Regions from separate parts of the Homo sapiens genome. Here region 1 is linked to region 2. Evidence: promoter capture Hi-C in 16 types of primary human blood cells and fetal thymus (Javierre and others, 2016). All regions are on one chromosome and are shown on one strand. Each heading gives the region's core, a stretch centred on a gene start or on the middle of the fragment in contact. The rest is flanking DNA. Distances are from core to core; before and after follow the strand shown.

Evidence for each region. Contacts are between HindIII fragments. The CHiCAGO score rates a contact against its expected background, and 5 or more counts as called.
Region 1: a contact is called between a fragment that was not itself captured here and the fragment with the promoter of USP16 in region 2, in 4 of 17 cell types (neutrophils, total CD8 T cells, activated CD4 T cells and 1 more). The highest score is 5.7, in neutrophils.

What each region holds. Positions count from the first base shown.
Region 1 is chr21:28,968,910-28,971,786 of GRCh38, forward strand. LTN1 (listerin E3 ubiquitin protein ligase 1) reads right to left here. Exons shown (of 30, transcript NM_015565.3): 7 at 2,362-2,535; 8 at 1,643-1,833; 9 at 557-692. Among named protein-coding and RNA genes, the nearest start is that of LTN1, 23 kb to the right of the region's middle. RefSeq lists a silencer at 1-57. The HindIII fragment of the contact is 7,647 bases long and covers 1-2,877 here.
Region 2 is chr21:29,023,100-29,025,971 of GRCh38, forward strand. It overlaps USP16 (ubiquitin specific peptidase 16), which reads left to right and starts at 1,569. Exons shown (of 18, transcript NM_006447.3): 1 at 1,569-1,678. RefSeq lists an enhancer at 1,445-1,834. The HindIII fragment of the contact is 4,939 bases long and covers 1-2,872 here.

The DNA of each region.
Region 1 (2,877 bases), core at 200-2,699, 54 kb before region 2:
ACTACATCTTTCTAAAACAGGGTTTTACAGGCCGGGCGCGGTGGCTCACACCTGTAATCCCAGCACTTTGTGAAGCCGAGGCGGGTAGATCACCTGAGGTCAGCAGTTCTCGACCAGCCTGGCCAACATGGTGAAACGCCGTCTCTACTAAAAATACAAAAATTAGCTGGGTGTGGTGGCGGGTGCCTGTAATCCCAGCTACTTGGGAGGCTGAGGCAGGAGAATAGCTTGAACCCGGGAGGCAGAGGTTGCAGTGAGCTGAGATTGCGTCATTGTACTCCAGCCTGGGCAACAAAGAGCGAAACTTTGTCTCAAAAAAAAAAGGGATTTTTGCATCCAGACACTGATTAGTTTCTTAGGTATCATACCATGCTAGCAACTGAGAGTATGGAATTTTTACTTATCTGGTCAGAAATACACATCACTCAATTGGTAAATTATAAAAATAAAATTTTTACAAGGAAGGCTTATTACTGTAAATGGCAACAAGACACAATGAGCTTGATCCTACATAATCAGTATGCAAAGAGACTGACGACTTTTACATTATAGATACCTGATCATTGACGAGCATCTGTTCAATCTCTTCCTCACCTAAGTTTTGCTGCATTATAAAACGTAAGCATTCAAAAAAAGCAGATATTACTGCCGAGGACTCTAAAGAGCTGGTTTTAGTTCTCTCTGTTGACAGCCTAAGAAATAATTAATAACTGGATTACTCTTTCATGAAGAAGAAACAAGAACTCAGAATTATCAAAATAAAGACCTCAAAAAGGCATCATGACAGAAGAAACATTTTTAAAGCAGTTTCTTAAACTACAAATTAAATACCAATGAAAATACATATAGCCCAATGAGAATATGAACTTAAAAACTTTGAAAAAGTTTTTCAAAAAATGTATCAGTAAAAAATAAAAATAAGAGAATATTTCCTTTTTCTTTTTCTTCTTTTTTTTTAGAAATAGGGTCTTACTATCTTGACCAGGCTGGTCTTGAACTCCTGGCCTCAAGCAATCCTCCCACTTTGGCCTGTGCTAGGATTACAGCTGTGAGGCACCACGCCTAGCCGAGATATTAATTTTCTATTCATGGACCAATCCACCTGCAAATTCGAGATAACTTATTAACCAAATAAAGATAATGGTGTAGTAAAAAAAATCTGTAATCATTAATAAAATGATGTATCTTCTAAGTTCAACAAATGTACTGAAACAGTTTTTTTAAGTGTGAATTTAAACATCTATAGTAGTTAAAGTTGTTGATGTTTTAAAAATTTCACTGGCTAATTTTCTGCATTTAGGCATTTGTATTTATCAACATAAAAAATAAAAAATGGCTACATGTGTCTGTGGTGCAATTGGTTAGCACATTCTGCTGTTAAAAAAATGGCTAATTTGAAAAATAGCCTAGTTGACCTATTTCCAACAAGGAGCTTTACCTTATTTATCTAACTTCCTGCTGTGTGCTACCACTGAAGTCTTGAACGTACTCAAGAAAAAAATATCAATTGTAATTCTCTGAAAACTTTAAAAGTATTTAATGAATAGTAAAACAACTTGGAGAAATTTAAGTAAGAAAGAAAATGAGTATAAAAACAAGAAAATCTGTTTTGTTTTAAAAATCAAAAATTTAAATTACTTACCCAGCAACTAGAGACGTGAGGAAATTTTTGAAGAAATCCAACTTTGGATTTGTGATGGACTGAGGGAGCTTGCTGATGAATGGCAGAAGGTAAGGATATATGACAGTAGCTAGACCCCGACCACCTTCACGAATCACAGTTGATAGCTTGGGAAACACACTCTTTTTTGCATTTACATGAAGCCAACAGTCCTAACCAAACAAAAGATTATAGTAGTAATTAGAGATCATAAACATACTTTTCTCAATTAAAAGAGAAAACATATAGGCTCTCAAAAAGAAAAACCAAGTATTTTACCTAAAAAAAGCTAAAATCTTTCACCACCATTAAAAACTAAAACTGAAATTATAAATGTATTACATATAATGATCATATATTCGACATGCTTACAATAAAGTATTGATTAGAAATAATTATTTAACTTCTATTTCTATAAAAGCTGCTTTCTAAAAGGGACAATTATATTTCAATCTTAATTATATTTCATCTTAAATATAAAATTCAGTTATGGTGACTGCACTAGGACACATAAGGTTTAAAGAATAATTAATACTGGCAAAACAAAATAAAATAAAAACTCTATGCCATTTTAGTCACTTTAAGATTTATGCCAAGTTTAGATTATTTTATTTCCAAGAAAGCATTTTCCCAGTAAGTTTTGGATATTCTTATCTCATAGGTTCATTCCTCAGTGTACTAAATGTGCCTCTCTTACATACCTCAATAGTTGTAAGTGTATAGAGTACAGCTTCCCAGAGAGCTGGGCAGACAATTGGGTCACTGTCATCAATGCTAAGTAGAACTGATGGGCTCACTTTGGATGCTTCCTCTTTCATCAACTGTGGAATGCGCTGGCACAATGCAGAGACTAACTCAAAATAAGCTGAGCGAATCTAAAAGAATGCAAAGCTGAATTAAATTAAAACCTAGTAAAACTTGATAAGATTTTTAATTTATGGTAATAGTAGATTATTCACACTAACCCTCCCACTAAGAAAACTAAAATAGCTAGAAAAAATACTTTTTAAAATCTTAGAGTATGAAATGGCTGAAAAGGCATAAGGAATTACCAAGGCAAAAGTGAAGGCTGAAAGAATTAATTCAACTTTCTCTTTCTTTGACTGAAGCAAACACAAATCCTCTTTAGTAGCAGAAGCCTTCATTTGGGGCCTCCATTATAGCCAAACAAACAGAAAATAAGACACCATGAGCAACAATCAGGAGAAATAAAAGAT
Region 2 (2,872 bases), core at 319-2,818:
AAAAAATACAAAAGTTAGCTGTGTGGTGGGGTGGCACGTGCCTATAATCCCAGCCACTGGGGAGGGTGAGGTGGGAGAATCGGGAGGTGGAGGTTGCAGTGAGCTGAGGTCGTGCCACTGCACTCCAGCCTGGGTAACAGAGTGCAACCCGGTCTCAATAAATAAATAAATAAGTAAATAAAACAAAAATTATCTCAGCAGTAAAAAGCAAGAGAGCTAGTTTTCCCCCAAATTTAACCAAATGTTACTCTGGTGGTTAGTATGCCACCATCTTAAACTCCTTTTATCTGATTAGTAAGGATGGACATTTATTTTATGACCAATTGTTCTTTTATGGTGAATTACCTGTTTACATATCTATTTTTCTATAGCTATCTGCAACTCCCCCGACCCCCACGGTAGCGATTACTATCTTCTCTACTAAACTAAGACTCCAGGGCAGAGAGGCCTATGTTTAATTCATTTGAGGAAAGGCTTGGCACAAAGTGTGCACTTACATATTTTCTTTTTTTCTTTTTGAGAGGGAGTTTTGCTCTTGTTGCCCAGGCTGGAGTGCAATGGAGTGATCTTGGCTCATTGCAACCTCTGCCTCCAGACTTCAAGCGATTCTCCCCCTTAGCCTCCCGAATAGCTGGGATTACAGGCGCCCGCCACCACGACCGACTAATTTTTTGTATTTTTAGTAGAGACGGGATTTCACCACGTTGGCCAGGCTGGTCTCGAACTCCTGACCTCACGTGATCCACCCGCCTCGGCCTCCCAGTGTTGGGATTACAGGGGTGAGCCACCGCGCCAGGGCTCGCACTTACAAATTTTCAAAGAATGGACAGTAAATATTTGAAAATCCCCTCCTCCCCCGCAATTTATCTGACACCGTCTTTCGGTTTTGCTTTAAAAATTCACTCTCGCGGCCGGGCGCGGTGGCTCACGCCTGTAATCCCAGCACGTTGGGAGGCCGAGGCGGGCGCATCACAAGGTCAGGAGTTGGAGACCAGCCTGGCCAATTGGTGAAACCCCGTCTCTACTAAAAATACAAAAATTTTAGCTGGGCGTGGTGCCGTGCGCCTGTAGTCCCAGCTACTCGGGAGGCTGAGGCAGAAGAATGCACTCCAGCCTGGGCGACAGAGGGATATTCCGTCTCAAACAAACAAAAAATCACTCGCTGCGTTTTTTATTCTGACATGGTGCAGGAAGGTAAATTCAAGACAACTTAGGTACTCAGTTTTAGAAGTCGACAGGACAGAATTACGGAAACAAATTTAAGCGTTCCCCCTTTTAGCTCCAAATATAATGTGTTCCAGAAAGGTAACCATCTAGGAAACTCCAAGGCTCAGACCACCACCGGATGCCCACACTTCAGGAGCATTTATATAACTTCGTGGTTATGTCAGAGACGAGAAAACCCATTGACAACCAAACCCCTAAACCCGAACATCCGGCGCAAGCCGCACGCAGGCGCAGATTTACTAGCGTCAGAGCCGATGGTCCCGGGAGGTGGGGGTGGGGTGGTGGTGGCCTAGCCACTTCCCATAATGCCGCGTTCCGGAAGTTATTGCTTTCCAGGGGTCACTCTGGCTTCGACTCCGTCGCTCTCAATTCGTCACCAGGAGGAAGACGGAGCTGGCTGCCCAGCCCAAAGGCCCATGAGGGGATGCAGTTATGGGCTCTGTCGCCGTGGGTGAGTTCTGGTCCCACTGCCTGGCAGTCGTCGCTCGCCTGGCTTTCTGCGCTGGGAGAGCTCCTGTTTTCCGCCCCAACTTCGTTCTCTTCTTGAAGGCCGCTCTCCTTAAGCACGTAACCCGGCTACTTTCCGGTACTGCGATCTCATTGGCTGCATGTTCTGTCAGTTCCAGAAGCTGGCCAATGAGATGCCGCTGCTGGCGGCCTTCTCGACCCCGTGGACCCAGAGGTTCCCCCGTGGGATCGGAGCAGTTAGAAGGGGAGGAGAGGGAAGGTGTGGCAGGCGCCGAGCAAATGGGTGGGTGGCGCGTGGCAGGGACTTCCCTATGGGTTGGAGCTGGATTTGCAGCCGTGTTCATACGGCTGGTAGGAAAAGCAGGATCTGTCACTTATCCAATTGACTATATCTAGGAGGGGATTGATATACGCAAAACTTGAAAGCCACGTTAACACCTGCTGACAAAGTTTTCCACACGCTTACATTTTTAATGGAACCGAGTAGGCAGGGGAAGACTGGGAGGGCAGAGAGTGAAGAGACTTGGAATAATATGAGAACCGGCAAGACTATCTTTGATTTAGATTTTGTATGGAGTCCTGCGAAGAGTCATTTCACTAAGACGTTAATGCTCATCCGATGACACTACTTGAAAAGTGTATTAAGTTTATTGATGTTTTATAGCTGATGGAAGTCACAATATGCTCTCCTCATGACTCATTAGTTGCCTTTATAGTTGTCAGAACTTTACTGAGGCTCTTTCCGCAGCACTGGAGTGACCCCTCTGTCCTCTGCCTGCAGTAATTAACAATTCGTCTTTCAAGTTTTCCTATGGAGTCTAAGCTGCTGCAATCCTCAAACCAGATTTACTAGTGCTGTCTTCACTACTGCAGACTTCTGACTTCTCATTTTTCACCCTTTTCTTTTTCACCAGAACTTGTTTGCTTCATTCTTATGTACCTACCTTTGCACCTTGTAATCATCCTTTATGCCTCAGGTACTATTCTATTTTTCTATTTCAATGCAAGAAGTATTTCTTCAGGACCTGCTATGTACTAACATTATGCTAGATATTATAGGCAGTTCCAAAACTGTGCTTGAAACCATTTATTTTTCTAAGAACTTTAGATTCTGCTTACAGAAATAACATAAACCCAGATTAAAGATTTAAGAAATTCACTAGAATATGGGATAAGG